Linked DNA regions of Homo sapiens: region 1 is linked to region 2. The links are contacts of gene promoters, found by promoter capture Hi-C in blood cells and fetal thymus (Javierre and others, 2016). All regions are on one chromosome and are shown on one strand. The core of a region is centred on a gene start or on the middle of the fragment in contact, and the rest is flanking DNA. Distances in the headings are between cores, read along the strand shown. Region 1 overlaps TDRKH (tudor and KH domain containing). Region 2 holds the start of POGZ (pogo transposable element derived with ZNF domain).

Evidence for each region. The method cuts DNA at HindIII sites, captures the fragments that hold promoters and counts their contacts. A CHiCAGO score of 5 or more calls a contact.
Region 1: a contact is called between a fragment that was not itself captured here and the fragment with the promoter of POGZ in region 2, in 3 of 17 cell types (M2 macrophages, erythroblasts and M0 macrophages). The highest score is 9.1, in M2 macrophages.

What each region holds. Positions count from the first base shown.
Region 1 is chr1:151,779,012-151,784,126 of GRCh38, reverse strand. It overlaps TDRKH (tudor and KH domain containing), which reads left to right. Exons shown (of 13, transcript NM_001083965.2): 2 at 1,078-1,228; 3 at 2,540-2,646; 4 at 3,987-4,176; 5 at 4,885-5,024. The coding sequence starts at 1,105. Among named protein-coding and RNA genes, the nearest start is that of TDRKH, 8.9 kb to the left of the region's middle. The HindIII fragment of the contact is 4,445 bases long and covers 6-4,450 here.
Region 2 is chr1:151,457,482-151,462,484 of GRCh38, reverse strand. It overlaps POGZ (pogo transposable element derived with ZNF domain), which reads left to right and starts at 2,991. Exons shown (of 19, transcript NM_015100.4): 1 at 2,991-3,333. RefSeq lists an enhancer at 2,721-2,770 and silencers at 3,601-3,650, 3,841-3,890. The HindIII fragment of the contact is 6,484 bases long and covers 653-5,003 here.

The DNA.
Region 1 (5,115 bases), core at 979-3,478, 320 kb before region 2:
AAGCTTGTGGATATTTTCTCTGAATGCTCTCCTTTTTTAGTGAAATAGCAAGGACCTCAGTTGAGAGAGGTTGGAGGAGGCAGCACGAGACGTTTGAGTGGAGAGGGAGGCTGAGAAACTATGTGGAATAAGGAAATATAATGAGGAACATGTTAAAATTTGCTTGGCAGCAAAATGAAGATACAGTGTCAAAGAGAAACTCAGCACAAAAGCCTGTAAGAAGTCCACTGCTGTGGTCTAAATAAGATTTGAGCTTCTGAATCAGGCCAGATGCAGCATTGTTGATGTCATTAGCATATAGGTAGTAATTGAACCCACATATGTGGATGAAATGGTCTAAAGAGAGCAGAGTGACATTAACAATTGATGGCACAGGATGAGAAGCCCAAACTTGGAAGGACCCTCCAGGGAAATAAGAGGAAACCAAGAGAAAGAGGGCACAGAAACCAAGGAAAGAGTTTTGTGGAGGGAGTGGCCACCTTCCTGCTACCGCAGAGAGATGGGTGAGATAAGGCTCCATGCATGACCTGTAGGTTGATTATCTGGGAAGTTACAGTTTTGGCGATGGAGCAGGGAAGAACCCCATTTCACTGTTCGTTAAGGAGTAAATAAATAGAAACCAAAAGTAGAGACAGTAAATGAAGACTGTACTTCCAACAAAGATAAATAGTAAGGCCTTTACTAAGCCTGGAATGGCATTTCTTGCAGAGGCAGCAGCTTCTGGAAAGCCCTGGAGGCATAAAAGGACTTAGATAAGTAATTTTAAATAATTTAATATGAAATCTAAGTATATATATTTCAAATATTTGATTCATTTAATTTTTTTTGTCTTTTAAAACTGACTTGGGTGGGGAAAGTGAAGTATGCTTCTATTTAATTCTATGTGTACCTTAGCTAACTTTTAAAAAATACCCTGAGCCCTTTTTATATGAAATAAATTTTGAAATTGCTGAAGCTCTTGAAATTGGAAGGTAGGCAGTAGTAGTCTTTTCAGTAATAATGTGCTCCCATGCCTCTCTGCTATTCATAAAAGGATTGGATGAAACCTCCCTCTTTTCCCTGCTTTGCTTGTTTCAGGATATAAGTCAAAGAGTACAGCAGAAAATGTCTACTGAACGGACTTCTTGGACAAGCCTGTCCACCATTCAGAAAATAGCCCTGGGCCTTGGGATCCCAGCCAGTGCAACAGTTGCCTATATCCTATACCGCAGGTATAGGGAAAGCAGAGGTACGTGAACCCTATGACTGTGTGTGTGAAAATGTTCAGACATGCTCCTGCCTTGTTAAATTGAAAAAAACTCTTTCCTTGCCAGGTATTGTGTGTGTTTTGTTTTGGGGTTTTTTGTGGGGTTTTTTTGAGACAGGGTCTCACTCTGTCACCTAGCCTGGCGTACAGTGGCACAATCTTGGCTCACTGTAGTGTCGACCTCCTGGGCTCAAGCAATCCTCCCACCTCAGCCTCCAAGTAGCTGGGACCACAGGCCTGTATTTTTTGTAGAGATGGGGTTTTCCCATGTTGCCCAGGCTGGTCTTGAACTCCTGAGCTCAAGCAACCCACCTGCCTCGGCCTCCCAAAGTGCTAGGATTACAGGCATGTGCCTCCATGCCTGACCCAGGTATTTTAATTGACTTTCTGTGAGGAATCTTTGACTAAAATTATTTAGTCTTTTTTTTTTCTTTGAGACAGAGTCTCACTCTGTCGCCCACACTGGAGTGCAGTGGAGCAATCTCGGCTCACTGCAACCTCTGCCTCCCGAGTTCAAGCAGTTCTCCTGCCTCAGCCACCCTAGTAGCTGGGATTACAGGCGTGTGCCACCACTCCTGGCTAATGTTTGTATTTTTAGTAGAGACGGGGTTTCACCACCAGGGTGGCTGACCTCAAGTGATCCACCTGCCTCGGCCTCCCAAAGTGCTGAGATTACAGGCATGAGCCACTGCACCTGGCCTAGTCTTTGCTATGTTCTTACATAGCAAAGTAAGCTAGTCTATGAAATGAACTCATTTTATAACTCCATTGATGTGCTTTCTTCAGCAACATCAACACAGCAAAGAGTTCTTTTTTAATTTCTATACTCATCTTTTTTATATATTCCTTTTCTCTAATTAGTTGTTAGTAGAAGGCACTTACCTCAAAGGCTGGATCTAGAGAATAGGACCTAGAGAAATGACTTATGTACCTATCAGTCAGGAGAAGTTCTGAGCCTAATGGACCCCTCAGGTAACTTTTGGCCTTCATTCTTCTCCAGTAGTCATGTCTTGGGAGAAGTAGTTTGCCCAAACCCCAGCACCTGTTTATTGCAGAATCTGCTTTTCCCATTTTAGCATCTGAAACAGTGTCCCAGAGAAAATGCCCATCTCTGATCCTTTGGGACCTTCTAATTCCCATTCAGATGCCACTTTTCCTTGTTGTTATGGTTGAGATCCTCACTTTATCTCTTGGATCAGTGTCTCTTTGACAGCCAGATTCTGGGGAGGACTGGTAGTTATACTAGCTTTGGGTGTTATCTAAGTCTGATCTGATGAACAATGATCTGTGCAGAAGAGCGGCTGACATTTGTTGGGGAAGATGACATTGAGATAGAGATGCGGGTTCCCCAGGAGGCTGTGAAACTCATCATTGGCCGGCAAGGAGCCAATATTAAACAGGTAAGTGTGTGAGTAGGCAGTCTGCTTTCCCAAGGATTGATTCTGTTTATTGATTTCTTGTTTCCTTCCACTGACCCCATATCACAAAACATTCACATGCTCTGTGTGTGTGTGTATGTGTGTGTGTATATATAAAATATATATATATATATTTTTTTTTTTTGAGATGGAGTTTCGCTCTTGTTGTCCAGGCTGGAGTGCAATGGCACGATCTCGGCTCACTGCAACATCCGCCTCCTGGGTTCAAGTGATTCTCCTGCCTCAGCCTCCCGAGTAGCTGGGATTACAGGCACCCGCCACCACGCCCAGCGAATTTTTGGTATTTTTAGTGGAGACGAGGTTTCGTCATGTTGGCCAGGCTGATCTCGAACTCCTGACCTCAGGTGATCCGCCTGCCTCGGCCTCCCAGAGTGCTGGGATTACAGGTGTGAGCCACTGGGCCCAACCACTATGTATATTTTTAAAAGAACAAATAGAGGAACTTTTTAGCTAACTAAACTTTTTAGCTACTTCCCTTCTAGAGAAGAGTACTTCTCCCTAGAGAAAGGATGACTTAGCTTGAAATACGGGTTTTTGACTGGGTGATTGTCAGCATGGTATAACTTGAATTATCCTTTTTTTTTTTTTTTTTGAGACAGAGTCTGGCTCTGTCACCCAGGCTGGAATGCAGTGGCATGATCTTGGCTCACTGCAAGCTCCGCCTCCCATGTTCACATCATTCTCCTGCCTCAGCCTCCCAAGTAGCTGGGACTACAGGTGCCCGCCACCACTCCCAGCTAATTTTTTGTATTTTTTGTAGAGACAGGGTTTCACCATGTTAGCCAGGATGGTCTCGATCTCCTGACCTCGTGATCCAGCCGCCTTGGCTTCCCAAAGTGCTGGGATTAGAGGCGTGAGCCACCGCGCCTGGTCAAATTATCCTTTTCTACTATGGAATTAATGAACTCTCATTAATTGACAGTAAATATTGAATGGCTACCTGGTTCTTCTTACCATCTTCCATTGTTCAGCTGGAATGTCAAGAAAACAAAATATTTGATTCTCTAATCCAAATAAAATTAGTAAGGGGAAAGGATTCTAAACACAAAGATAAATGGGTTTGAATTTACTGCTATTTGGGGTTACATTTGTTACTAATCTCCTTCCATAAAGTGAGGACTGGTTGTATAGATAGTAACTGAGGTTGTATATAAAGTAATTGAGGACTGGTTGTATAGATAGTATTAGCTAATTCCTTTGGCTAATTCTATCTACCTCCAGGGTTTGTTTTAGAGTGTCTGTAGCTGGGCTCAAATGGGAGCTCTTCCAGAATGTACTGCCAAATGTCCTTTTCTTTGCAGCTGCGGAAACAGACAGGTGCTCGGATTGATGTGGACACAGAGGATGTAGGCGATGAGCGAGTGCTGCTTATCAGTGGTTTTCCTGTTCAGGTGTGCAAGGCCAAAGCAGCAATCCATCAGATCCTGACAGAGAATACCCCAGTGTCTGAGCAGCTTTCAGTTCCCCAGAGATCTGTGGGCAGAATCATAGGTACCACTGGATGGCTTCCTCTATTGTTTCCTTTATTCTTTACCTTTGCCCCTCTTTCACACCTTCCCAGGGTTTTTTCTGGCCTAGTTCCCCTTCACCATGTGAGGGGAAAAAAAGGGACATTGAGACCAGAGGTTTACTGTTTGTAGAACTGGTGGTAAAACCAAACCTGTTTCCTCAAGAAGTTGTATGATCTGAACCTTACAAATTGATTCTTTAAGGGTTCTAGTAGATGTATTATATTTACCTTATAATTGATTTTTAAAGGGAAGCTTGGGATGCTCATGTTATCTCAAGTCTTTCAAGACAGTGCTCTAGAGGGTACCTTTTATGCTTTCCCCTAGAGCATTGCTTAGTGCTGCTGTTAGAGGCAGAGAAATGTCCTGTCCTTGATCCGGTGTTCTGACACACTATGTAGCATATCTTCTTGTGACCTGATATGGCCATGCTGAGTGGTCAAAATGAAAATGACATGAAGTTAGCCAAAGTGTAGAGTTTAAATAAAATGGAAAAAGGAAAGAATATGGTATTCTCCTTTTCACAGTAATGATTTCAGTAGCTCCTGATTTCCATTCAACATCTTGTATTTTGTTCACTTTAGAAATGAGAACTGATTCTCTTCTCCTAGTATATACAAAACAGTGATTTCTCCAGTAGCTAAGGTTGGCCAGGAGGGAAGGGCAGGTTTTTATATATTGTTTAATGTAGGGAGAGGCGGCGAGACAATTCGTTCTATCTGTAAGGCATCTGGAGCCAAAATTACCTGTGACAAAGAATCAGAAGGGACATTACTACTATCAAGACTTATAAAAATCTCAGGAACACAGAAGGAAGTGGCAGCAGCCAAGGCAAGTAGCTAATAGACTTGAATTATACCTGAGCATGAGAAGATCCTTTTACTCTATCCCAGGTCAGAATATCATCCTTTCTCTTGTTTTC
Region 2 (5,003 bases), core at 1,742-4,241:
TCCCTGCATCTGCCCTTGCCTCTATTAGTTATTCTTCACAAGCAGCCACAGTGATCCTTTAAAAACGTGAGTCAGGCCGTGTCACTACTTGCTTTATGATCCTCCAGCAGCTTCATTTTCACTACAGGTAAAACCTAAACTTTGCTTCACTTTCTTCAGGTCTTTGCCCAAATGTCACCTTAACAAGGACTTCTCCAATCACCCCACATAAAATAGCAAATTCTCCACCCCCATGTCTGCACCACACTCCTAATTCCCCTATCCTGCCCTTTACCCTTCATAGCACCTATCACCATTTCATATAATCCATATTTATTTACATAATGTATATCAGATTGCATTTTCCAAGATGGCCACAAGATTTCCCTTTCCGCACACTTTCTTACAATGTGACATTTCCACTATTCCCGTTGAGAGATGGGGATCTATGCTCTCCATCCTGTAACTGTAATGGAAGTAACACTATATGACCTCTGAGACTAGGTCACGATCTCTGTCTGGTCCTTTTGGGGCACTCAGTCTTGGAACTCAGCCACTATGATATGAGGAAGCCCAGGCTACATGGAGAAGCCACTTGTAAATGGTCTGCCAACAACCCCAGCTGCGGTCCAAGCCAACAGTCAACCTCAACTTCCAGACATGTAAGGAAGCTTTTGAGATTACTTCAGCCCTAGCCACTGCATACGAGACTCCCAAGTGAGAACTGTTTAGCTGAGCCTAATTACCTCCCAGAACCATGAGAGGTAATGAAATTGTTGTTTTAAGCCACTAAGTTCGGGGTCATTTGTTATTTAACAATAGACAATAGAACAATTTGTTTATGTGTATATTTTATGTCTCTTTCCTTCTAGAGTATAAATCCCACAGATTCAGGTATTTGTTGTTGTTGTTGCTGCTGTATTCCCAGCACCTAAAACAGTGCCTAGTACATGTGCTCAATAATTTTTTTTTTTTTTTTGAGACAGGATCTTGCTCTGTCCCTCCCAGGCTAGAGTGCAAGTAGTGTCATCATAGCTCACTGCAGTCTCAAACTCCTGGCCTCAAGTGATCCTCCCAAGTCTTCCAAGTATCTAGGAATACCACAACCAGCTAATGAAAAAAATTTTTTGGGGCCAGGCACGGTGGCTCACGCCTGTAATCCCAGCGCTTTGGGAGGCGGAGGCGGGCAGATCACGAGGTCAGGAGTTCGAGACCAGCCTGCTTGGTGAAACCCCGTCTCTACTAAAAACAGAAAAAATTAGCCAGGCATCGTGGCGCACGCCTGTAGTCCCAGCTACTCAGGAGGCTGAGGCAGGAGAATTGCACCCAGCAGGCGGAGGTTGCAGTGAGCCGAGATCGCGCCACTTCACTCCAGCCTGGGGGAGAGAGCGAGACTCTGTTTAAAAAAAAAAAATTTTTTTTTGTAGAGATGGGATGTTGCTAAGTTGCCCAGGCTGCCCTCAGACTGCTGTGATCCTCCTCCCTTGGCCTTCCAAAGTGTTGGGATTACAGGTGTTAGCCACCATGCCCAGCCCCCAATAAATATTCATTGAATGAATGAATGGATGCATGATCCATTTTCAATAAAGCATGCTAACAGTTACTGGTCAACGGTATATGGCATAGTCTGCGCTAGATCTCATTGGCTGGGAGAATAAATTGACAGGGCATGGGGAAATATGTTGGAATTTTTCAAAGGTTAATAACGTAATATACATAATGTAAATATAACATATATAATGAATTATACTAATTACACGACAGTATAAAATAGGATTTGAGTTTCATGTAGTCTTTTGGTGATTGATCCCATAATCCTAATATGGGCTTCTCCAGATCAGGTCTGGAAAGTCTTCAGAAGTATTTTCAGAAGGATTTAGTGATTCTTCTCATTCAAATAATGAAGTCCTTCCTAAGCATCCTACACTAGTGGAAATCACTCACATGGTTTTGGTATGAAATGGAATGAAACTGGGTGGTGGCAGTGTGTGTATGTGTATGCACATGTGCACACTCACACGGGCAGGTGCATACAATTTGGAATGCCTACTTCCACTGCCTATTTTCAGTCTGGTGGTTTGAATGGAGTGTGTATATAAAGAGCACAAATAAACATAGTTCTGGATTTCCCCTTTCTGCACCAAGTACCTTGATTTCACATTTGGTTTGAAGCAAATATTTGTGTATTGCTTAAATAGCAAACATTTTCAAATATTCAAGGAAAATATTACATTTTTATAATCTCAGAAGGCAATAAAGGACAAAATTTCTTAGCTACCTGAAAAGAGGTAGTTTTTGTCTGGGGAAGAATAAACAGGTGGATGGTCGTTTGAGTGGACTAACCAATTTCTTTGAGCCAACCCATCTCAGCCTTGATTGGAGCAAAAAGCATAAGGATGTGGAGTGTGTGTGGTTTCTTGGAACTGGGGATCTCTGCTGAATCTACTCACAATGGGAGCAAAGCAGTTTCCATCACAATAATCGCTTTAACAATCGTGTGCCACTTCTTTCCAGGATCCAGAAGGGCTTGAGGATCAAAATGGCTTTTAAAAGTTCTTCACTTAAACAAGGCCGCAGCCACAAGGTTACTTGGCCGAGTGTCTCTTGAGAAAGAGTGAGTGCCATTTTGTTCTTTGTTCCAATGACAGTTGTTGGTGCCACTGGGCCTCACCACCTGGCCTGTGTCATGAAGTCTCCCTCTTGACTGGGTCTAAGCCTTGAGTGGAAAGTGGGGGAGCCTCCCAACACTTCCTTGGAAACTCTTGGCAAGTAAATTGGGGAATATTTTCTTTGGAAGTCTCATTTTTCTCACCAAAATTTAGATATAGCTTCTGAAGCTAATTATTCTTTTTTCATTACAAAAAATGTTTTCCTTTATTTATTTATTTGCAGGCCCAGCCAAACTTGACTAGAAAAGAAGCCCGGGCAGGGGTTTGGATGAGCCCATGACGTGCAGCGCGCTCCGACCAATTGGGAGGCCGTGAAAAAGGGGAGGGCGGAAGTGACGAGCCGTATCCCTCCGCGGGGCGAGAGGGTCGGTGGGGGGAGTCGGCGTCTCTCTCCCCCGCGCCAGCTCCCGTACACGGAGCCGCATTCCTTGGCCCCCCCACCCCCCTCCCTCGGGGCCCCCCCGCCCCCCTCGGGAAAAAAATCCACCCCGAATCACTCGAACCCGAGGGAGGCTTCCTTTCACCCTTGGGGAGACGAGCTTTCAACGGTTACCTCTTCTTCGTCTCCCCCCAAGCCCCCGTCCCCTCCCCCTGCTCCCACCCCCTTCTGGCGCCGGGTGTAAGGTCCCTTTAAGGCGACGGCGCCTTCCTCGGGTCAGACTACCGGCGGCGACGACCACAGGAGGTGAGTGAGCGAGCGAGCCTTCTCTCTCCCCACCCCCTGCTCCCGGGGGTTCCGTTATCTTTTCGCTCGGCGAGGCGTTCAGAGGCGAGACAATGAGAGGGGGATGGGGCCGGTACGCGCGGGGGTGGGGGCGGGGGGCCGGCGGTGCGCGCCCCCGCCCACCGCGAGTGGCGGCGCGGCCCGCGGCAGGGGCGGCCGCGGGGTGCGGCGCGCGAGCGCGAGTGTGTGTGCGTGCGCCCCGGGCCGCGGGAGCCGCGCGAAGGGCCGGCGGCGGAGGTCCCTGCCTGCCGGCTGGCCGGCCGCCCCCGCCCCCCGGCGCCCGCCGCGGCGCGCGCGCGCGCACTCGCGCCCCACGGCCCCGCACACAGCCCGACGTCCACACGCACGCTCGGCGCGAGGCGTCTCGGAGGAGTGGGCGGCGCGGGCGCGGGCGGTGGCCCGCTGGGGAAGGGGCGGGGGCGGGGGCGCGGGCGGTGGCGAGACGGCGGGGCGCGGCGGGAGGGGCCGGCGAGGGGGCGAGGCCGTGCGGCGGAGGGGCGGGCGGCGGCGGAGCGGCCCCTGGGGGTGGGGGTGCGCGGCCCTCCCCGCCCCATTCCCGCTCCGAGAAGGAGTGGGGCGCTCGTTTTGAGCGGGAGGAGGAAAATGAGTGATTGCTGAGCCGATCCCTTGTGTTATGTAATCTCTGCTTGGTCTAATAGTACATCCTAAGCCTTAGTGCACTGCAGCTAGTTTACGAAGTCTCCTCCCTCGGTCCCCAAATTTCTTTTGGGATGGCGCCGTGATTTATAAAATGGAATGAGGCGGGGAATCTTTATTTTCTGGTGATTATGTCCTGCCGCGGTGGGCGCCATGTTTATCCCGGGGACTATTTTATTTAGATTCTTGGCACCTTTTGCAAAGGAGTACTGTCATTGATCTATTTGTTTTCCGTCTTTCTGCGTGTTGTTCTTATTTCCTTCCTCTCCAGATGTGGGATTCTCTCAAACTGCTAGTAGCACTTGTCTTAGACATTCTTAGTTCAGAAAAAGGTAGTGCTGATGAGTCCTTAGAGTCATTTAGTGGCCAGTCTCATTTTCGAAATGGAAACTAAGATGCAGTTGGACTATCTCACAGCAGCCGCCGTCTTGATGCAAGCGGTGTAGCCCGTCCTTCCAAGCCCGTAGACACCTCTTACCGCCGCTCAAAACTCCACAGAAATGGGGTTTTACTTTTTTTTTTTTTTTTGAGACGAAGTTTCACTCTTGTCGCCCAGGCTGGTGTGCAGTGGCACGATCTCTGCTCACTGCAACCTCCGCCTGCCGGGTTCCAGTGATTCTCCTGCCTCAGCCTTCCTAGTAGCTGGGATTACAGGCATGTGCTACCACGCCCGGCTAATTTTTGTATTTTTAGTAGGGACGAGGTTTCACCATGTTGGCCAGGCTGGTCTTGAACGCCTGACCTCAGGTGATCCGCCCGCCTTGGCCTCCCAAAGTGCTGGGATTACAGGCGTCAGCCACCGCGCCCGGCCGGGTTTTACTTCTGTAGGCATTTACCCAACTAGAGGAAAGGGAAACGGAGGGGGCAGGGAGGGCTGCTCGTTGGCAAACGATTAATTTTGAGACACTATTGCTCAGGGTCTGAGAGCTTGAACTCTGAATTCGAACTGTTAGCACAATCGTTCTCAACTTCGG